5 separate regions of the Homo sapiens genome follow, and all the other regions are linked to region 5. The links are contacts of gene promoters, found by promoter capture Hi-C in blood cells and fetal thymus (Javierre and others, 2016). All regions are on one chromosome and are shown on one strand. Each heading gives the region's core, a stretch centred on a gene start or on the middle of the fragment in contact. The rest is flanking DNA. Distances are from core to core; before and after follow the strand shown. Region 1 overlaps LOC101928911 (a long non-coding RNA gene). Region 2 holds the start of LOC105377882 (a long non-coding RNA gene). Region 3 overlaps LOC101928911 (a long non-coding RNA gene). Region 4 has its middle 25 kb from the start of ZNF292. Region 5 holds the start of RARS2 (arginyl-tRNA synthetase 2, mitochondrial).

Evidence for each region. The method cuts DNA at HindIII sites, captures the fragments that hold promoters and counts their contacts. A CHiCAGO score of 5 or more calls a contact.
Region 1: a fragment that was not itself captured here is called in contact with the fragment with the promoter of RARS2 in region 5 in 1 of 17 cell types (neutrophils); the score reaches 6.3 in neutrophils.
Region 2: a fragment that was not itself captured here is called in contact with the fragment with the promoter of RARS2 in region 5 in 1 of 17 cell types (neutrophils); the score reaches 5.3 in neutrophils.
Region 3: a fragment that was not itself captured here is called in contact with the fragment with the promoter of RARS2 in region 5 in 1 of 17 cell types (neutrophils); the score reaches 5.2 in neutrophils.
Region 4: a contact is called between a fragment that was not itself captured here and the fragment with the promoter of RARS2 in region 5, in 2 of 17 cell types (total CD8 T cells and naive B cells). The highest score is 6.6, in total CD8 T cells.

What each region holds. Positions count from the first base shown.
Region 1 is chr6:87,907,373-87,912,109 of GRCh38, forward strand. It overlaps LOC101928911 (a long non-coding RNA gene), which reads left to right. Exons shown (of 5, transcript NR_110869.1): 3 at 2,410-2,542; 4 at 3,307-3,426; 5 at 4,280-4,359. Among named protein-coding and RNA genes, the nearest start is that of SPACA1, 140 kb to the right of the region's middle. RefSeq lists an enhancer at 166-215. The HindIII fragment of the contact is 5,060 bases long and covers 547-4,737 here.
Region 2 is chr6:87,928,676-87,932,971 of GRCh38, forward strand. LOC105377882 (a long non-coding RNA gene) reads left to right here and starts at 2,766. Exons shown (of 3, transcript XR_001744246.1): 1 at 2,766-2,968. The HindIII fragment of the contact is 2,900 bases long and covers 705-3,604 here.
Region 3 is chr6:87,858,765-87,863,205 of GRCh38, forward strand. All of the region lies in intron 2 of LOC101928911 (a long non-coding RNA gene), which reads left to right. Among named protein-coding and RNA genes, the nearest start is that of AKIRIN2, 160 kb to the left of the region's middle. RefSeq lists an enhancer at 2,924-3,737. The HindIII fragment of the contact is 2,262 bases long and covers 798-3,059 here.
Region 4 is chr6:87,128,356-87,132,707 of GRCh38, forward strand. No RefSeq gene overlaps it. Among named protein-coding and RNA genes, the nearest start is that of ZNF292, 25 kb to the right of the region's middle. The HindIII fragment of the contact is 2,261 bases long and covers 1,212-3,472 here.
Region 5 is chr6:87,586,840-87,591,286 of GRCh38, forward strand. It overlaps RARS2 (arginyl-tRNA synthetase 2, mitochondrial), which reads right to left and starts at 3,148. Exons shown (of 20, transcript NM_020320.5): 1 at 3,083-3,148. The coding sequence starts at 3,118. It overlaps ORC3 (origin recognition complex subunit 3), which reads left to right and starts at 3,296. Exons shown (of 20, transcript NM_012381.4): 1 at 3,296-3,353. The coding sequence starts at 3,330. RefSeq lists enhancers at 2,278-3,239, 3,003-3,232. The HindIII fragment of the contact is 3,839 bases long and covers 1,003-4,447 here.

The DNA of each region.
Region 1 (4,737 bases), core at 1,827-4,326, 320 kb after region 5:
ACCCCCAAGTCTTTGAGCAGTAGTGAAAGGAATCTCAGGAGAATATGGGAAGGCTTGATCGGATGGTACTTTGGAAACTGTTATTTCATTCAGCATCCCACACTGCCTCTGGGCTTCACGACGGCCACTTAAAGAGGAGACAATTCTGCTTTGTAACTGTCGCCAAATGTGAGGAGAGGAGGGCTTCCTGGAGAATGTCTTTCTCTTGAACTCGAAGGTGGATCTGCTCTCCCCATAGCCTCCACAGGCTACTGCAGCAGTATTTCCTCCCCCAAGGGGAGGAAAGGTCAAAGAAGCCAAAAATGGGGGGATCAGTAGCTATAGCAACACAGTCCTCTTCCCCACACCATAGATGCCTGTGGGATTAAGAAAAACTTTCATCACTGGATTTTCTTGGCTTCTGATGATCCAGGATGTGGTTGTGGTGTGTCTGAGTGTGATTATTTTGAAATTTGAGGTTTAGAACCAGTTACCACCAAGAATGCTCAGTGGGTGGCATTGCCTGTGCTCTTTCAGACATAAATGGGAGATGTGAGCTCAGAAAGAAGCTTTTGTATCTAAAATGTATTTTTATGATTAAATTATAATTTTTATAAATGAACCTTAGTATCATTAAGCTATATTATCTCATGGCTTTCAGCTAGAATTTTGTGATGTGCTATTAAACAAAAAGCAACCCATACATGAAGTCTATAAAATGAACTTGCTAAATTCTGAACTTCAAACAACTTTCTTCTCTTCAAAATGCCCCAATCTTCATGCTATACTTTTAATTTATGATAAAGACTTTATTATCTTTTATGGTGGAAAAAAGAGGGTAGCATATGAGTTAAGACTTCTGGTTATCTGAGCTTCAAGTCAAGTTAATTCCCCAAACTTCCAGCTGTACCTGATACCCTGTCTGCTACATGAGGCACAAAACTACAAGTGCCCCCTAAGGAATTTAAATGTAAGGAGTTTCAACAACTCCTGAGGAGAGACAGCATAAGAAGAGGACGTAAAAACCATATCCCATTTCAAAGTGAATTTTCAAAACCCAAAACACTCTAAAACACATCCTGAAACCAGGTAAGAAAATAAAGTTTCAATTCAGAAATAATTAAGATTGAAAATAAACTTGTCCTGGTTAAAGCAAATGACTGGGTTGGCAGAGGAGGGGAATGAACAGCTGTCCAGCTGTTACAGGTGTTTAGGAAAATGCGACACAGTAGGACTATGCCCTTGAAGCTGGGCTAGACTCTAGGTTCTTAAGTAGAGTGTCTCCTGTGGCATAATTTTTTGATTAGGGTTCAAAAATGGAGCAAAAATTTATTTTGGAGGACAAAAGAAAAACCCGCCTCTAGAATTATCCACGTGGTAAAATGTCAGATATGATGGACAAGAACAGGAATTTTCTGTTTTGCCACTTTCAGAGTTAATTTTCTTCTTCTTTTGAAATCAGGAGGAATTACAAAAACCTTTTATATCAGATTTGCAAATACCAATAAATTGCCCACCCCTACTTCTGTCTTTATCAGCTTGCCCTTTTGACAGGCAGCACACAGTAAAATGAATAAATTCAGCACATTTTCCTGTTCACCAAGCATAAATTATTACTAACTGTGGTGAGAGGCTATTTGAAAAGCTGTTTTATTTGAGAGAGGAGCCTTCTTTTATCTACAGATGATTCTGTTTGAAATCAAAGTAGATATTGTCTTATCTTTGCGACCTCAGGAAACTGAACTATGATGACGTATTTCCATTCTAAAGAGGGCAATGAGAGGATGCAGGCATAAGCTGAATAAACTTGACTAATCTATTCCTGTTCTTGGTTCAGATTCCCAGTCTTTGAAATACTAGGAGAATTACCATAGCATTAGTATGTGATACGACACCATTGCATGTTATCTGGATTGTGTTATAACTGGCAGGCTTCAGCTCTGGGTGGAGGGATTGGACTTAGGGGTGAACTCAGAAATCCCTTCCAAGTGAAATGCATTATGTGTCTCTCATACCATGGCCCTTTAGTAATGGGCTGTTGCTCTGTAATTTTTGCTGGTCTTTCAGCTTTCATGCATTAAGTCATGATTTCCGTCAAAGAAGCTCTATGATTCTCACACCTGAAAGGATTGTAGCAATTTGATGAAGTATCAGTTTGAAGTAACACTGACAAAAATGTATATCTATCAAATGATTATAGCTTTTATTCAATGACAAACAGCATGGAAATTCATAAATAGTTTTTATGCAGTAGCACATTTATTCAGTCCTCATTTCATTTGATGCCTGTCTTCTGCCTAGTGCTTTCAACATAATAAATTGGGCGTTGAACCATGAAGCTGGCATTTAGCATTAACATGTCATATTGTACCGCTTACCATTTTGCTATTTCCTTGATTGATTTTTCTTTCTATTTATTTTTTATTTCAGAAGAGTGCAATGATTTCAGGATCAATGATTTCTGAAAATGAACATTTTTAATAAAGCAGCTCTGGACTGTGATTCCTAACTATTGGGGCATTGGCATTAAAGAAAAGAGATTGGACATTTTGAACCTTGTGTGGTAAGGCAAAAAATAACACTGAATCGAAGTGTCTTGGCTCTGAGCAGGGCTGACTCATAACCTTGGCTCTCCAATTCAGAAGGAAGCAGTGTTTTGGGGGGACTGAATCACCGGCCCAGGCGGCACGTGCGTGAGGTTGAGCAGTGAGACCAACTGCTCGACAAGCCATGTTGGTTGTTCTCTCAGTGAAGTGAAAAGCATGTGAAAATTGCTCATCCTCACACGTTAGGTCTTAAAATAGCCTGCGCTGTTGATCCATTTATGAGAAATATGCCACCAGTTTTCTTAGCTCACCTGGGTGAAAGTTCAAATGACCAAAAACCCTGTGTGGTAGAAACACATTTGAAATATAAAACTTTAGGGTCAACTTTGACTGCTCTTCCTTTCCTGCCAGGAAATAATTTCTTCAGTCACCCCCATTTTTGCCCTGAATGCCTCTTATGGAAGTGACACCATGACTCTTGTTACCTCTCACCTCATCAATGCCATGGCCATTAAAGGGCATGAAGGGGTTAGGATTCCTCAGTTGCAAGCAACAGAAACCAATTCTAGGTAATAAAATGGAATTACTGGGAGGACACAGAATCAGCAGGAGGATGGACAGTTGGGCTTGCAAATAGGTAGGAACAGGGCACCTCTGGAAGGCCAGGAAGCAGGAAGCATAGCATCTGCTTCACACAGGTTGAGTCTGGCTGGGGCCAGGACAACTGTGGCCATGGATGATGTCTAATCATTCCTTCTGACTTTGCATCATTGGTTTATAGTGTCAAAATGAAACTTTTTGTCCCTGGATATGTTGAGACGGGAAGAAGGAAAATCTGATTCTATGGTTTACTACACTCCAGGAATTATCATCCCTCTAACACCACACATGATGGAAAGAGGTAATTATCAAAAAGGAAACTGGAGGGGCATTGGGAAGTGAGAAAGGATGTTGGGTGACAATTGTCCATGAGAAGACATTTTTCCTCTTCCAACTTTTCATCTCTCCAACTCATTTCAGTTCAATTCAAAAAACATTAAGTTTCAACTTTGCACAAGGCATTGTTAGATATTGGGCATGTTGAAAAAGAGGTTGTCTACACTTTGCTGTCAGTCATGTTGCATTTAGTGGGGCCATGCACTCTTATGGCTTTTCATTGAGGAGTGGAGATGAAGGATTGCCACATCTGGCATGCATTCCATCATTGAAGCCTTCAGTAGAGCTGTGAGCCATGTGAAGCCTTTGATCTCTTCTACATTTCTCACCTGCACCTCTCTGGTATTCTTTTGCCTTCTAAGGCTCACTACTCCCTCTGCTTCCCTTTGTGTCTTAGCCTTACTCTTAGCTACCTGCCAAACAATATCATTAAGATGTTAGGTGAAAGCAGGCATAAGGGATCTTATTGGGGTGCTAGAAATGTTCTAAATATGGATTATGGTGATGGTTACACAACTCAGTAAATTTACTAAAAGGCAGTACATTTTACATTTAAAACAGGTGAATTTTATGGCATGCAAACTATACCTCAACAAAGTTGTTAAAAAGATGTCAGGTGATGATCAAGGCCAGAAAAGGCACTTGTTTGGTTGGAAAAGGCTTTTAGAAGGGAAAGAGTAAATGAGAGTGGTGGAATGATGGCAGGAGTGTTTGACAAGCCAGCCTAAGGCACCAATGGTACCAGAGTTGCAGAAAACCAAAGCTCAGGAGCAGCCCAACTAGTGACTGCTTGATTATCTGTCATCACTTTGCTTCAGAAAACTTGGGGCTCAATGGTTGCTCCCAAAGAGTACCCAAATGCTGGTCCATGAGCTGAGACTGGGCACCTCACACTACAGGTGCTTCCCCAGCAGAGAGCAATGTCCTGGAAGGGAAGATTGTTGTTCTGTGACCTCCCTTTTCCTCCCAATTTCTCCCCCTTCATCTTTGGAAGTTCACCTGATGGAAGTGGATAATATCATACAGTTTGAACTTTATTATTATTTTGTGTTTTTATTTTATTTTTTTCTTGTTGAATCTTATGCAAGTTTGGTGTCCTGATCTACAAAGGCAGGAACTCTTTCTATTTCTTTGGCATCTCGCACAGCATCTTCAGTTGCATTGGAACTTTTAAAGTATCCTTCTGTTCTCTGCTGGCCTCCCCAGATTTCACTGAGCTGTGATTTGTGGAAGGGGAATATCTTCCCAAATACAAGTGTATTGGAATCAACCTTCC
Region 2 (4,296 bases), core at 905-3,404, 340 kb after region 5:
ACATGGCTTCCGTGTAAAAATTTTTGAGCCTCAGGCTGAAGAAAACAGAGCAGGGGAAGATATTTAGGAGGGAAACTATTTTACACAAAGGTAACGTGTGTGAGAAATAAAGACTTTTTTTTTTTTGAGACAGAGTCTCGCTCTGTCACCAGGCTGGAGTGCAGTGGCACGATCTGGGCTCACTGCAACCTCTGACTTCCTGGTTCAAGCGATTCTCCTGCCTCAGCCTCCCAAGTAGCTGGGATTATAGGCATGTGCCACCACGCCCAGCTAATTTTTGTATTTTTAGTAGAGACAGGGTTTCACCACGTTGGCCAGGATTGTCTCGATCTCCTGACCTCGTGATCCGCCCGCCTCAGCCTCCCAAAGTGCTGGGATTACAGACATGAACCACCACACCCAGCTGAAATAAAGACCTCTTAAAGCAGAAGGCAAAGGTACATGTCTCTGGAAATTCAGAAGTGTTATTTAGTGATCTAGATGAAGAATATATGGGAGGAGACATGAGAGCCTCTGTACAGAATCATTCATGTAAATGTTTGCCCAGAAACCCAACTGACTGAGGCCATAATTCACCCTTGGGAAACCACCAGAGAAGCTCATTGGATCATAGCTATGAGCGAAGAGCTGTTGCTAGCGAATCAATACTGCTATCTCTATAAGCACCCACCTTATATCTCTGTGACTGCATCTAATTTTTAATAAGCTTGTAATCAATGATTTTTATTATTTTGTATAAATTTCCAAAAGGCTAGTTCAAGTAAAAAAAAGAAATCCTGAACATTTTCAGCTGGAGAGTTTTTAGGAATAATTACATGTACATTAAGCAATATTTTTCTGGTGAAGGTGTATATTTTTCTCTCCTTCCTTCCTTCTCTTCCTGCCTCCCTCCTCTCTTTATTTTATTCCAGAGAGACTGCCATAGGTTTACCAAATACCCGAATAACCCTTTCTTGTTTTATCTGACCCATTCATCTTGTACACGTATTTATTATGATATGAGCACAGAGACTTTTGTTTTCTGTTTTAAACATTTGTTTTTGGATGTTCGGCAGATTGCATGCCTAAAGAATGCTTTGACTAAGAATTCCTAAACACAGATTATGGCTTTGGGCAGAGACCTCTTTCCCCAGTGCCTCAGGTTCCTAGTCTCCACTGCTGACGTGCAGTCAGAATGAACTAATTCACACCCCAGTCTAGGCATCTGGGTCACTTCGTGCACATGCTGTGAAAAGGCCGCTCCTTCCCTTTCTTCAGCCACTACTCGGCACTACTCAGGCACTTCGGAAGCAGTGACTCAGGAGACCAGCAGGTGGCACATGGGAACCAGACTACACACTCCTGTGGCCCAGGACAAAGAGATGGGAGAGGAAGGATTTCGTGCAAGGCCAGCTGGCTGATTTCCTCAGTGTTGGCGGATTGAATGCTGCCCATGAGGACTACAGAAATCTTCATGGACTGCAGGACCTCAATGATTAAAGACAGGGAGGCAGGGAGGAGGGCAAGATCAGGGTGACACTAAAGGATGGGGACATTACAGTCAGTCTTTCAACCTCTGCTAATCCTCTCCCTTAACCCCTTACCTCACAGGGGGGTTGTAAGCTGAAGGACATATCATAGGTAAAGCAACAAGCCTGGTTGGGGAGCTTAACACTGGTAGCTGTTAAAATAGTTATTATCTGGTTGGGTTGAACACAATCCAGTGGTGTTATTTAGGCATTTTTGACTAATCTAGAGGTTGTATGCAGGTGTTTCTGATTCATTCATCTGTTCATTTGTGTTTCCAACCAGTGACTATATATGGAGTAGGTTCTCTTCCCTTTGCATGGCTTAAGTACACGAAGGTGCACAAGGCCCAGTCTTCAGGAAAACAAACAACCCACTGTAGTGAAGTCAGTAGGAGGATGAGAGATAGGTTATATGGAAAAACCAACAATTTAACTTGATAATCAACACTCTAGGCAGAATAGTTAGGTTTTGGGATGATGGTTTTGATGGTGGGGAAGCTAAGACAGGAAGATGAAGGAAAAAAGGACCATTTGCAACCATATATAAGGAAAGGGCATTTATAAATCAGAATAATTTCTAATTGTTAAAATAATCACTATGCTCACACATTCTATTTAACCTTCCTCTTTTAGCTGGATATACTGTGGGGCTTTTATAGAAAGCAATACTTTGAGGGTAATTTAGCCACTTTGAAAAAAGAATATATATAATATATGAAGGGTTATTTTTACAGAGAACAATGCTCAGTTACTCCCTGTTTCCAGAGTAGAAGAGGAAAAGAGCTTTACCTAGAGCAAGAAAATAGAAAAGGCTTTTTAGCACTGAGAAGTGTTCATTCCTGGTGAGTTACCCCCAGAAAATGTTGGCATTGTTTTAGATCTGGACTAGTTTAGATATGGCTCTCTTAGGGAAAAGGAATACACAAGAGTGCTTTTTTTTTTTTTTTTTTTTGACAAAGTCTCACTCTGTCGCCCAGGCTGGACTGCAATGGTGCAATCTCGGCTCACTGCAACCTCCGCCTCCTGGGTTCAAGCGATTCTCCTGTCTCCACCTCCTGAGCAGTTGGGATTACAGGGGTGCACCACCACACCCAGCTAATTTTTTGCATTTTTAGTAGAGACAGGGTTTCACCATGTTGGCCAGGCTGGTCTCGAACTCCTGACTTCAGGTGATCCACCCACCTTGGCCTCCCAAAGTGCTGGGATTACAGGTGTGAGCCACTGCGCCCGGCCCACAAGAGTGATTTTTAAAGGCCCTGTACATACTTAGGATGAACAGAATCTGTATCTTTTCTAGAGAAAAGAAAGACAAAGAATGGCTTAATCACTGACTGTCAAATAAATGAAGGCCTATCAACTGGAGAGAAACTGTTAGATAAAAGAGAGAGAGAACTAAAACAAAAGATCTACCCTAGAAGGAAGCACCATTTTGATTCTAAAGATTGTGGGAGTCTCTTGGGGTAAGTAATAAGAAACTATGGAATGTTAGTTTGGGGAAAATAGGTTCTCTTCCTCTTGTGTAAATGGGCAAATTTTTGGTCACAATTTCAATATGTGCTTATTGGCTGAGTTGGGTGGGATGTTGACAAGATCACCTCTAAGATCTTCATGTTCTGGAAACTTCCCAGTGGTGGGGTAGACCTCATTTCCAAGTTGGCAAAGATGGTGAACATCTAAATGAAGCCTTTGCAATGAACTAGGTTCTTACAGTCTCATCACAGACTAAAACCCAAATTTCCACAAATCATTTAGGAATAATGCATCCAGCTACAGGTGAAGTTCTAAGTGGAAATGGACCATCCCTGCCTTTGGTCTTTGCCAGACTAAAGCTAAAGTGGTAGAAAATACCTGAGACTTTTTATAATGCAGAGTATGGATTTTACTCAGAGTGCAGAGGACAGAATTGCACAGGATCTAAGGGCCACAAAGTGATTTTTAGTAAATATTCAACCACTTTAGGAGAATTCTAATAAATAGTCAAGGTAGAGAAATTGGGGTCTAAATCCTAAGACTCATGCTCCCTTCTGAAAAAATTGTATCTGCAAAGATCAGCAGCCAAGTGAAGAATACTAACCATATTTATTAACATCTCAGCAAGCTTCCAATTACAACAATACTACCCCACTTGCCCTGTGAAAAGTGTCTCTGGTTAATTTGAAACCTAGCATGTGGCTTAGGCTGAAGGCCACAGGGGAGCCAAAGAGCTTCTTCCTAACAGGGAAGGTCCTGACTATCCTGATTCCCACACAAGAACAAGAGTTCATAGAGCAAGAAGCGGACAAGGAGACACAGGCCTGCCCTTGCAGGCTGGTCCTTCCTCAGTCAGCAACAGCGAGTAGAAGACCAGGTGCTTGCAGCTGCCTATCACTGTTCAACGCTGTGCCCTTACCCGATGAAGGTCAGGGCTGGAGAGCAGATTAGCAACTCTTCCTCTTGTGTAAATGAGCAAGCAACAGGGTGCTGTGTGTATAATCAAGGCGGAAACAAGGAGATAGGAAGAAAGTTCTTTCAACCAAATGCCCTCCTTAACATTTCTGTTACCACTTATGTAACCCAGAGCATTGTCCATCTGATTAAATCTGAACATTAATGAAGAATAGCTTCATTTTAGCAGCCTTAAATGAACATGAACTCTGGAAGGAGAATTTGTAACACTTATTCCTGATTTTGTTGTTGTTGTTGAGCTTTAAAATCCTTAAGTTGGATCTCATTTTAGATAAGGACTGAGGTTGAGAATAGGTTCAGAAGTCCTAATGGTCTCTTTGTATTTCAATATAAGACATTTCCT
Region 3 (4,441 bases), core at 679-3,178, 270 kb after region 5:
TTGCCTTATGGAAAAATCCTGTTTACTTGGCCCTCTTTCTTGTGCAGAAATATAGATCATGACCATTGGAAAATGGAATTGCAGTCTTCTGCCACAGCAGGAAAATACATTATTGTTGGGTTGGGTGTTTCATTAAAGGTTTCTGCAGAGGCTGAATATCTTTATCTAAAATTCACAAAAATGCCTCAGGCCAATATCCTAAAAAAATGAGAATTATTTACCTGGAATCTCCTTGGTTCTCTCTCTGTTGCTCGTTTTCTTTCTCTTTTCTTATCTTGCTGATTATTTTACTGTGGCTCTGTACAGCCATAAGATTCTCTACTAATTTACTACTTTTAACCACTCTCGATTCAGTATCAGAGTGATAAATTGTTTGATTCTTTTTTCTGTTGTGGAGATCAGGAAGTGTAGGAGATTTATACCTAAATATTCTTCTTCCCGATTTAAGAAGGAACAATAGTCTCGAATTCCTAGGAAAAGATAATTTGGAGAATCCATACCAGAACGAGTGTTCCAATGAAGATGTTTTCTTTGCATGCTGATTTCTTTCTTGTAGGTTATCTCTTTATTGCAGAACCACAGAAGTTGGAGGGGTCTCCAGAGGATGTCTAAGATGAATCACTGCCTCAGGCAGACACAGACCAAAGAGTGGTGTGAAGTTAGATTCTGGGCCCAAACAACCATTCCAGAAAGAGCTCTATAAACTTTCATTATTAATAAATAAAAACATTCTGAGATGCTCTGCTAACTAAGTTTTATGGTCAATATTTATAGCTAGTTACTAAATTACCACTAAAAGCTTATCACAGGTCCATTTCTAAAGATGCATATTATCTAACAGGGTGGTTGTTCTTAATCACATTCCATTTTCACACTTAAAATAGGTAAAAGCACATATCCATGTTCCCAAAGGTTTGCATCTCTAATAGAGTTAAAATTGCACTTATGCATTTTTCTATAACTTTGTTAGTCTTAGCGTTGAATACCAAACTTGTCTTTACACAGGCAAAACACAGCTAAAGTTGTAAGCACTGTCTGGCCATTAAAACTGTAAGCACTTCACTTGACAGACCCAAATAATCAAGGAGGAATAACTTGGGGGAACTTATATTGACTCTTTCAATTCTCTTTTTATAAGGAAATCGTTTCCTGTGTCCAATTTGATTATAGGAAGAAAATGATGAAGGTGGCCTCACACATGCCTAGCTTCCTCCTTTTGCCGGGCTCTTACAAAATACCCTTGACTATGTGGCTTAAACAACAGGCATTTATTTCTCATAGCTCTGGAGGCTGGGAAGTCCAAAATCAAGGTGCTGGCATATTTGGTTCCAATGAGTACCTCCTTCCTAGACTGCAGACAGTCGCCTTTTTGCTGTGTCCTCACATGGCAGAAAGACAGAGACCAAGCTCCCTGGTGTCTCTTATTATAAGGACACTAATCATATCATGAGAGCCCCATTCTTATGACCTCATCTAAACCCATTTATCTCCCAAAGGTCCTGGCTCCAAATACCATCACATTGGGTATTAGGGCTTCAACATATAATTTTGTGGGGACAAAATTCGGCCATATCATATAGAATACAATACTATTATAAGTATACAAATTATAAGTAGACAGCTCAATAAATTTTTGCAAAGTGGACCAGGCATGGTGGCTCACACCTGTAATCCCAGCACTTTGGGAGGCCAAGGTGGGCGGATCATGAGGTCAGGAGATCGAGACCGTCCTGGCTAACATGGTGAAACCTTGTCTCTACTAAAAGTACACAAAAAAATTAGCCGGGCATGGTGGTGGGCGCCTGTAGTTCCAGCTACATGGGAGGCTGAGGTGGGAGAATGGCATGAACCCGGGAGGTGGAGCTTTCAGTGAGCCGAGATCGCGCCACTGCACTCCAGCCTGGGCAACAGAGCGAGACTCCATCTCAAAAAAAAAAATTTTTTTTTGGCAAAGTGAGCAGACCTGTGTAACCAATGTCTGGATCAAGAAACAGAATATTACCAGCAACATTCTCTCCCTGCCCCAATAGTATCACTATTCTGACTTCTTGACACCATCGATTGGTTTTGCCTGTTTTCGAACTTTTGAATACTCTGTGAAGAATATCTATAGCAGCACTCTTTACAATAGCCTAAAGGTGGAAGTGATTTGGTGAACATGCGTACCCATTTCTGTTGGGTATAGACCTAGAGATGGGATCGTGGAGTCATCAGGTATGTGTATGCTCAGCTTTACTAGATATTGACAAACAGTTTTTCCAAACTGGTTGGGCCAATTTAAACCCCCATGAGTTTGAGAGTGCTTATTGCTCCACACCTTCACCAACACTTTGTATTGTCAGTCTTTTTCATTTTAGCCATTCTAGTGGTATGTAATTGCATCACATGTGCTTTAATTTGTGCTTCCTTGATGACTAATGAAGTTGAGCATCTTTTCCTATTTTTAAAATTACAAGTGCTTTTAATTAGGATACCATGACTGCCAAACAGCTCCACCCTACTTTGTGTCATCTGAAGGACTAAGCTGTGCATTGTAATTCAAGTCTTCACTGTAATGATACTCTATGGTGCTTGGACTGACATCAAGCCACTCGGCTCGATTATACTTCGGTCTGGCCTTTGACTAAGTGTTAAGCCATATTTTGATAAGTAATTAATGAGAATATAATGTAGACTAGACTTGAATCTCTGGAGGAAATTAGCTCTAATTCTGCCTCCCTTATCTACATAACATGTAGATCAACCCTGTAGTAGAAGAACTACCTCTCAGGCTGTTCTTCATGGATCCATGCAAGGTTATTTGAACCTAGTGCTTCTCTGAGTCATGTCAAATAGATAGTTTGATGATTTGTCCTTGTGTATCCACAGGAATTAATGTTAAAGGATGTGTTATAATTGTCAGTCTCATGTGTCTTCCTCCTTTCCCTGAAACTGTCAAGGCAGTGGGACTCTATGCTGGCAGGAGGTTGGAACGTTAGTTGCTTTAACATCACCATTTCCAAGGTTCTCTATCTCAGGCAATCCTTTCTCCTTTTAGTTGTGTCTGTTTAAAAATACCAAGCTTTTCAGATGGCCAACATCCTCTTGATGCTAGTTTTCATGCGCGTCCGTGTGAAGAGACTACCAAACAGGCTTTGTGTGAGCAATAAAGCTTTTAATCACCAGGGTGCAGGCGGGCTGAGTCCGAAAAGAGAGTCAGCGAAGGGAGATAGGGGTGGGGCCGTTTTATAAGATTTGGGTAGGTAAAGGAAAATTACAGTCAAAGGGGCTTTGTTCTCTGGTGGGCAGGAGTGGGGGTTGCAAGGTGCTCAGTGAGGGAGCTTTTTGAGCCAGGAAGAGCCAGGAAAAGGACTTTCACAAGGTAATGTCATCACTTAAGGCAAGGACCAGCCATTTTCACTTCTTTTGTGGTGGAATGTCATCAGTTAAGGCAAGGACCGGCCATTTACACTTCTTTTGTGGTGGAATGTCATCAGTTAAGGCAGGGCAGGGCATTTTCACTTCTTTTGTGATTCTTCAGTTACTTCAGGCCATCTGGGCATATACGTGCAAGTCACAGGGGATGCGATGGCTTGGTTTGGGCTCAGAGGCCTGACACTAGTCAGTTCACTGTGGTCCACCAATGGAGTTGATTATGAAATTTGAGGTAAGGATGCTGACTTTTGGAAGGTGTCCCCAGGTATCTGCTTGGTAATCTTATGGAATGATATATTATTATTTCTCCCAAAAGGGAGCCACTCTAATAATACATTGTTCAGTGAACTTTGAGTTTATTTAAAAATGATGCATTAGAACCACTGTGAACTTTAGAAACTGCATGTTCTGGAAACTATCTGTAGAGTTTCCTTAAGAAGTATGTTATTTGCTATGCTTTTTAGTTGGTATATCTTTTCTTAAGAATATTGGTCCTAATATATTTTTAAAACTTACAGATTTAGACTTGTCTTTGAGTTTTGTACTTAGATTTGCTATCACACTGTCCTTGGTTTTAACATTCAGGAGAAAACCACATTGAACAACCCAATCTCCTTCTACCAGGTAATTTTTTGGACATCTGGGATTTGAAAAGGTGCTTCACTTTGATTAGAAGTGTGTTCTGTTATTCTCTATTAACCAAGCACCAGATAATTATTAAGAATCTTCTAGGGGTGAGTGAGCCTCTCATGGGTGGCCTGATTCATTTTGGGATCCCTGCCCAGACGGTCATTAAGAAGTGTCAGCCAGTGAAGAGCTGGGCGCCTGCTCTGCTTGACATGAATCAAGACAACTTTATTTCTCTTGAGCCAAACAAACAAATGAAACACTCCCCTCAACCTTCAACAAAACAACAACAATGAAGAGAGGAGTTTGCCTGCCAAGCAATCTAGGCTTGAACCAACTGCTGCTCAATAAACATCATTCCCTGGAGGCCGTCTCTGCCCACCCTCTGATTCTCTTGACC
Region 4 (4,352 bases), core at 1,092-3,591, 460 kb before region 5:
ATACCATATATAATATATCATATCTATCATATCTATCATTGATATGATAGATATGATATGTATCATATATATGATATATATATCATAGATATCATAGATATCATATATATCATAGATATAGATATCATATATATCATACATATGATATATTATATATGATATATTATATATGGTATATATCATATATGATATATATCGTATATATGATATATATCATATGTACTATATATGATATATACCATATATATCATATATATCATATATATCATGTATATCATATATATCAAGTATATCATGTATATGTATATCATGTATATGTATATCATATATGTCATATATATGTATATCATATATGTATATCATATATGTATATCATATGTCATATATGTATATCATATATGTCATATATATGTATATCATATATGTCGTATATATGTATATCATATATGTCGTATATATGTATATCATATATGTCGTATATATCTATATCATATATGTCGTATATATCTATATCATATATGTCGTATATATCTATATCATATATGTCATATATGTATATCATATGTATCATATATACGGTATATCATATGTATCATATATATGTATATCATATATACGATATAGATGTATATCGTATGTATCATATATATGTATATCGTATGTATCATATATATATCGTATGTATCATATATGTATATCGTATGTATCATATATATGTATATCGTATGTATCATATATATGTATATCGTATGTATCATATATATGTATATCGTATATATCATATATATGTATATCATATATGATATCATGTATATCATATATCATGTATATCATATATATTATATATGGTATATATATCATATATCATAACTCCTTTCGGGGATATCATATATATATAAAATAAACATATATATAGTGAAACTGAACAGATTTGAAAACATCTGTCAAATACAGTCATCCTTTCACTGTGCATTTGATCTATTAGATAAGGGCTGAGGTTGAGGCTGGATTTTAAAACATTTCAAATGGATAATGACGAGCACCATAAATTAATTTACATTTACATTTCCAGATTATGAGAAACTTTTTAGAATCTGCTTTCCTTATAGTTTCAAGGAAATGCTGGTAAACTTGTTTAACTTTTCTATAGGTTAATAGACATCCTAAAAGTTATTCTTTTTGTGTGCCTGCTTCTTCATTCAAATATTTAAAGCTTTTCTGCTTTTATGACCCAGTACTGTTTACTATTGGCCCCCAGAATCCCACTGTAGGCCTAAAGGCAGTCCCCAGTTCACCTGACCCTTTAGAGGTATCTCAGTTCCTTGCTTCTAACAGATGTAGCAGGGTGGTTCCCAGAGTTGGATTTGTTTTCATCTTTCTTTCTCTAGCTTAATTTCTAAACTTTTGTTCTCCTAATATGCCATCAATATTTTTGCCATTTTCCTATTTTCTATTTCTAATTCTCTCTTTTTATTTTCTATTTCTAATTCTCTCTTTTTATTTTGTATTTTGTGTTTTATTTTATTTATTTATTTATTTTTGAGATGGAGTTTCGCTCTTATCCCCCAGTCTGGAGTGCAATGGCATGAGCTCACTGCAACCTCCGCCTCCCAAGTTCAAGCCATTCTCCTGCCTCAGCCTCCCAAGTAGCTGGGATTACAGGCATACACCACCACTCCCTGCTAATTTTTATATTTTTAGTAGAGACGGGGTTTCACCATGTTGGCCAGGCTGGTCTCGAACTCCTGACCCCATGTGATCTGCTCACCTCAGCCTCCCAAAGTGCTGGGATTACAGATGTGAGCCACTGTGCCCAGCCTATTTATTTATCTTTTTGAGACTCTGTCTCCATCTGTCACTCGGTTTGGAGTGCAGTGGTGCAATCATGGCTCACTGAACCCTCAACCACCCTGGGCTCAAGTGATCCTCCCGCCTCAGTCTCCTGAGTAGCTGGGACTACAGGCATATGCCAATATGCCCTGCCACATTTTGTATTTTTTTGTAGAGACAGGATTTCGCCATGTTGCCCAAGCTGGTCTCGAACCCTTGGGCTCAAGCCACCTGCCTGTCTTGGCCTCCCAAAGTGCTGGGATTATAGGCCTGAGTCACTGTAACAGCACTCTTTTCTTAATTGCCCCCCAAAACAATCAGTAACCTATTTTAGAAATAAAATTTTCATGCTTACCAAAACACATAATCAGAAATGAGGTTAAGTATACCAGAATTTCATATAAAGGGAACTTGCACTTGAAGAAAAATTACTGTCCTTACAAGTCTTCAAAAGTAGCTTCTAGTCATTACTTTCATGCAGACATCCCCTGATTCTGTATATATAGCACAGTCACCATAATTTATGAGATAATGTGACTTTCCCCAAAAGGTGGGGCTGATAATTTATGTTCCTGGCTTAGGAATGGCTTAGATAACTCAAGCAGTTTCTCTCCTACACATGCCCTCATACCTGATTCAAGCCATTGAACCAATCTGGGATTCATTGAGTCATTCAGTCTGAACATTCTGAAGGTTCTCTACACCACACTTTCCAAGAAGGCATTGCTATAGAGTCTGCTATTGCAGCTCAAATCATAAGCATTAGAGTGCTTTTCAGGTTTATACTTGTTCAACTAGACATACGCATCAAGCAAAAACATCTTGAGCTCTGTATATATGGTAATAAGTAAAGTTTATCATAAACAGAAAGTTTGTAATATGTACAAATTGTAAAAGTGTGGCCCTTACACAGGGAGATGTGAGGCTTCCTAATCTCTGAGCTAACATTAAGGGCTTCTTTTTCATTTGTGCCTAGTTCTGCTGTCTAAGTTATACTCTCTTAAACAGTAACAATTGGTGTCTCTTTGCCACTGGCATTTTGTAATTAGACTCAGCTCCAGCACTGACATGATGATATATAAGTGGTAAAAGACAGTAGTTTATGTTCATGATAATGCATTCCGGTAGACTAAAAGTCAATAATCACTTGACATTCAGAAAGCATCCTCTTGCTGGCAAATGCAATGCTTCTTAGTCAGCTCGGGCTGCCATAACAAAATACCATAGACTGTGTGGCTTAAACAACAGAAATTCATTTTCTCGAAGTTCTGGTGGCTGGAATCCAAGATCAGGATGCCGGTATGATCGGGTTCTGGCAAGAACCTTTTTTCTAGCTTGCAGAAGATGCCTTCTTGCTGTATCCTCACATGGCAGGGAGAGAAAGAGGGCAAGTTATCTGGCCTCTCTTCTTATAAGGGCACTAATCCCATCATGGGGCCCCAACCCTATGACTTCATCTAAACCTAATTACTGTCCAAAGCTCCATTCCAAATACTATCACACTGAGAGTTAGGGCTTCACATAAGAATTTCGAAGGGACACAAGTTATTCCATAGCAGCTTCATAATACCCTTTCAGAGTAAGTAATGAAATAGTTATGTTTTCTGAGAAAAGCACCTGGAGGAAGTAATGAAGCAACAGAAGCTTAGCCAAGAGGTATAAGTGAAAGGGCTTTCTTAAGAAACTCACACAAACACACACACACACACACCATGATTTCACAATTTAGCACCCAAGAAATTCCCTCAAACTGCAGCACTTGGTCCTTAACATAAGAAGCAATGCACTTGATTCTTTAGGGAAATTTACTTTTCAGAATAATTTTGGTGTTTTTTAACATTGCTGCCTGAAGACTAACCAAGGAGAAAAAACAAAAAGCTGTAATTCCCTTTTGCCTGCTGAAGTGAAGTCGTTTAGTATATCTACATCCACAATTAATCCTTAACAAAGAGCATTTCTTTACTCATTGCTGGATTGAACAACTTAAGAGGAATAAGACTTGTCATTTATTATTGGTTTTTAATTCTTTTGCATTTTTATACTTTCATGCTTTAGTGATTGAGTTTAGCCTAGAAGGGATTCCAGAAATAAAAGATCATCCTTTTGAAGACCTATTCTTTCCTTGACTGCCTTTTTTTTTTTTTTCAGAGTGGGGAGTTGTTTTATTTTTACTAAATAGGTTGCCACCTCCCACCCAAGACCTGCTTTCTCCATGAATCTTACTTCATTGTACTCTGAATTTTTCCTTTCTACGACTCTTAAAACATTGATTGTATGGGCCACATATTATTCCCTCTGTAGTTCTCTAAAATGATCACACATAACATTCAATAAATATTTGTTTAATTCATTGATTTTTTTTTTTTTTTTTTGTGATAGAGTTTTGCTCTCGTTGCCCAGGCTGGAACGATCTCAGCTTACTGCAGCCTCCACCTGCTGGGTTCAGGGGGGATTCTCCTGCCTCAGCCTCCCGAGTAGCTGGGATTACAGGTGCCCGCTACCAGGCCCAGGCTAATTTTTGT
Region 5 (4,447 bases), core at 1,898-4,397:
TTACCTGTTGAGCATCCCTAAACTGAAAATCTGTGGGGTTGGTTATTTATTTATTTATTTATTTATTTATTTATTTATTTATTTTTTGAGACAGGGTCTTGCTTTACCACCCACGCTGGAGTTCAGTGGCACAATCTTGGCTCATTGCAACCTCCACCTCTCAGGTTCAAGTGATCCTTCCACCTCAGCCTCCCAAGTATCTGGGATTACAGGAGGGTGCCACCATGCCCAACTAATTTTCTAATTAGTTTCCCAGGCTGGTCTTGAACTCTTGGGCTCAAGTGATCTGCCTGTCTCAGTCTCTCCAAGTGCTGGGGTTATAGGCATGAGCCACCATACCCAGCTCCTAATCTGAAAATCTGGAATTCTCCAATGAACATTTCCAATTTCCAATTGAGCTCCAATGAACTCAATGAACATTGAGTCTCATGTCAGCACTCAAAAAGTTTCAAATTTTGGAGCATTTCAGATTTCCAGCTTAGGGATGCTCAAACTGTACGGAACATGTTTTTTCTTTGCTCTTTTTTCCCCATGTCCTAACGTATTGAAAATATTATTATTTATCCTCAAGTTTCAGATCATTCCCCAATGACTCTATATTCAGAGAAATACATATATATCTGCATAATTTACACTGCTGTATAAATCCATTAGATTCTGTTCAATGATTGGACTGTGCTTCTTGCTTTCACAAAGAGCACAGTATATAGGAAAGATCTAATTTTAAAGTTAGAGTTCTGTTCATAAACCAACTCTACAATGTATTGATGATGTGGCTTTGGGTAAGTTATTTAATCTCTGTGGATCTCAACTGACTCAATTATATAATAAGGTTAATACTTCTATATCACAGGGTTGCCATGAGCTTAAATGTGAATGTGTAGTAACTAGCACAAATATATACTCAATATATTAGTTCTTGTTTCTCCAACTTATCTTTTTCTTTTTTTTGAGACAGGGACTCACTTTGTCCCCCAGGCTGAAGTGCAGCGGTGCAATCAAAGCTTGCTAGTTTCAGCCACCTGGGCCCAAACGATCCTCCCACCTCAGCTTCCCAAGCAGCTGGGACCACAGGTGTGTGCCACTACACCTAAGTTTTGTTTTTTATTTCTTTATAGAGATGGGGGTCTCCCTATGTTGCCCAGGCTGGTCTTGAACGTCTCAGTTCAAGGGATCCTCCCACCTCGGCCTCTCAAAGTTCTGGGATTACAAGTGTGAGCCACCATGCCTGGTCCAATTTACAGTCTTTACAAAGAACACAGCCTTTGCAAAACTAAACACAATTTGTTTCTCATCATGGCACTATCTTTACTTAAGGGCTAAGAATGGAAAACGTCCACCCTTACACACAGCTTAGATACTAAGGTCCAAAACTACCTTCCCTGATATGGTTTACTGTCTACATTAACATGAATTTATTATTTTTTGTCTTCATTAGCATAACTTTACTGTTCTAGAAGACTTCTGCCCAAATAACTTAATCATTCATTATAAGAACTTCATGAGAAATCTATTAGCTTTTCACGTTTTTTATTTTTATTTTTTGTTTACAGGGTCTCGCTCTGTCACCCACCCTGGAGTGCAGTGGCACAATCATAGCTCACTGTAGCTTCAAACTCGTGGGTCCGTCCAAGTGATCCTCCAGACTCAGCCTTTCAAGCAGCTAGGACTACAGAGGTGCACCATCATGCCTGGCTACTTTTTAAAAAAAATTTTGTTGAGACGGGGTCTACCTATGTTGTCCACGCTGGTCTCGAACTCCTGGGCTCAAGCCATCCTCCCACCTTGGCCTCCCAAAGTGCTGGGATTATAGGCATGAACCACATGCCAGGCCTATTAGTTCTTCCAATAGAAAACCTCAATAGTTTATGCCTTAAGGCTTCTTGCACTCTTTGCTTTTCCTATCAATCTTAAACCGCTGTATCAGATCAGAGTCCAACCCTAATCAAGCCATCTTCCTCCAACACCCTCCTACCCTCTCCCTCTGAAAGACCAGCCTTAAGCCATACCCATCAGTAAAATCTGACCTTGCTTTCCCAGTTTAATACACTACCAAAGCTCTCAGTGGTGTTCTTCCTTATCCCAGTGAGCAATAAATTCAGCTGTCTTAACAAAATGTCATGTTGGTGATATTTGGCGAATTATCACCGGACAGGGCAGTACATCTATAAACATAAAGACAAGGCAGAGGGATTTCCCCACAAATGTCTAGAAATACTGTAAAAATGAGCCAAGATAAATTATACACCAGGCTAATTACGTCCACTAGTACATCCATTAATCAGAAGGAAATGGGTTAGCCAAGACCACAATAGAAAGTTTCCTTGCAAGGGTGGCCAATGAGTCTTAAAAATTCTTTTTGATTAATTCCACATTTATACTGCAATTTTGCCCAGCGCGGTGGCTCAGGCCTGTAATCCCGGCTCTTAGGGAAGCAGAGGAGGGAGGACAGCTTGAGCCCAGGAGTTTGAGGCCTGCCTGGGCAATACGGCGAGACCCCGTTCTCCACAAAAAGGAAAAACAAAACAAAGCAATTATATTGCAATTTTGTAAGCCCTTCCTCACAACAGAGCTGTTCAAATACGACCCTGAACCAAGAAAAACTGAGTCTCAGATAGCTCTTATATCTTTGGGCGTTACCAAAAACAATTCTAGGGTAGGCTGCCTAAGTGACTGCAAGAGAAATAAGCAGCTTTAAAATGAGGTCCTTCTGAAGAACAATCCAGATCCATCATCAATGTCACTAAAGTGTAAAGAACACTAACTTCTATGGGGTCTAATCATGGTCTAATGACTTGCCGCCACCCAGGTAAAGCATTCATAGCTGTGGGGTGGGAAGGAGAGAAGAAAGCACCAGGTACCTTTCAAAGTTTACTTTTCACCGAGACAAACTGATCCCAGCCGACGCTCCACAGGACTTCTGAAGCTCCACCAGCTCCAGAGAAGGGGGAGGAGGTGGTAGAAACTAACAGGATTCCGTGGGACCCACCCTCCAGCTGACTGAGGACTGGCCCGCAGCGGTGAAAGGCCTTTGGGGTCCCTAGCTCCTCAGGGACTCCTCTGCGCGCTCCGGGATCCATACCTGGCAAGCAATAGCGCGGCGAAAGCCGCACGCCATGTCCACCTCTACGGAAGTGCGCCGCAGTCCGCCAGTTCCGGCCTCGCCCCACCTCCTTATACGACCCGCCTCCCCGCGCCGGAAACCCGCCCCGGAGGGTGATGCCAGCCAATCAAGGAGCCGTGTGGCTCGCCACTAACCTCTGCCCTGCAGCCGCGAGGGCGCGCGGGAAATCCCGAGTGCATCTGGAATACGCAGAGTCAGTAAGACCATGGCTACGTCCTCGATGTCTAAGGTATGTGGTGGCCGATGCGCACTGTGGCTCTACCGCTGCCTCATTCCCCTTTGAAGAAGGGATGAAGCCGAGGTTACGTAGGCATCCCTTCCCTGGCTGGAGAGGAGGGAGGGAGCGGCGTACTGAGCTGAGGCGTCCTTGCTCCAGATCAGTTGAGGCCAACTTTGCTTGGGGAGCGAGGACGCGGATCTGCCTTGTGGTATGGCTAGGAGGATTTTTAAGTTCTGGTTGGTGGAGGTCGGATGTCCTGATGATGTGGCCCAGTCTCTCATTTTTCCATCTCACAAATACTGTGCGCCAAGCACTCCGTTAGGTACCAAGATGCAGTGGTAAACAAAACAGATTCAGTTTCTGCAGTCAAGAAAGTCGGTAAACATAGATAAACTGACGATCACAAATTTTAAGTGTTAGCAAGGAAAAGAGTTCTAGGCAGACAACAGAAGAGTGGGAAGAACCTAATATAGGTTGTCGGGGGTTAGCGGAGGCTTTTTGGAGAAAGTGACCCTTTCGCTGAGACCTGAAAAATGAGTAGAAGTTAGGTTAAGGATTAGGGCGAGGAGGGCAGAGAGAACAGCATGTTTCTTCGGCCCAGAAGATAGAAATAAAATGGCATATTAGAGGAATTTAAAAATCATAATCAGAAAGTAGACAAAGAGTGGGAGCGTCATGAAAAATGAGAATGAAAAAGTAATGTGGATGCGGGTGTGTGTGGTGGGATATCTTATAGACCTCCTCATGTTGGCTACCTAGATGGCAAGAAATTGCAAGACATAGTGTAGTTGGTAAGAAGATAAGCCCTAGAGCTGTATTGTCCAATGTGTTAGTCACTCACCACATGTGGCTATTTAAATTTGAGTTAAAATAAAGTAAGATTAAATAAAAATTCAGTTTCTCCGTTGCACTAACCACATTTCAAGTGCTCAATCATCACATGTGGCTGCAGCTACCATTTTAGATAGTGCAGATATAGGACATTTCTATCATTACAGAAAGTTCTGTTGGACAGCGCTGTTCTGGACCACAAAAAGTAAGACCTTGAGTTCTATTGTAAGTGCAGCGGGAAGCCCCTGAAGTTAAGCTGTCTGAGAAAGCTG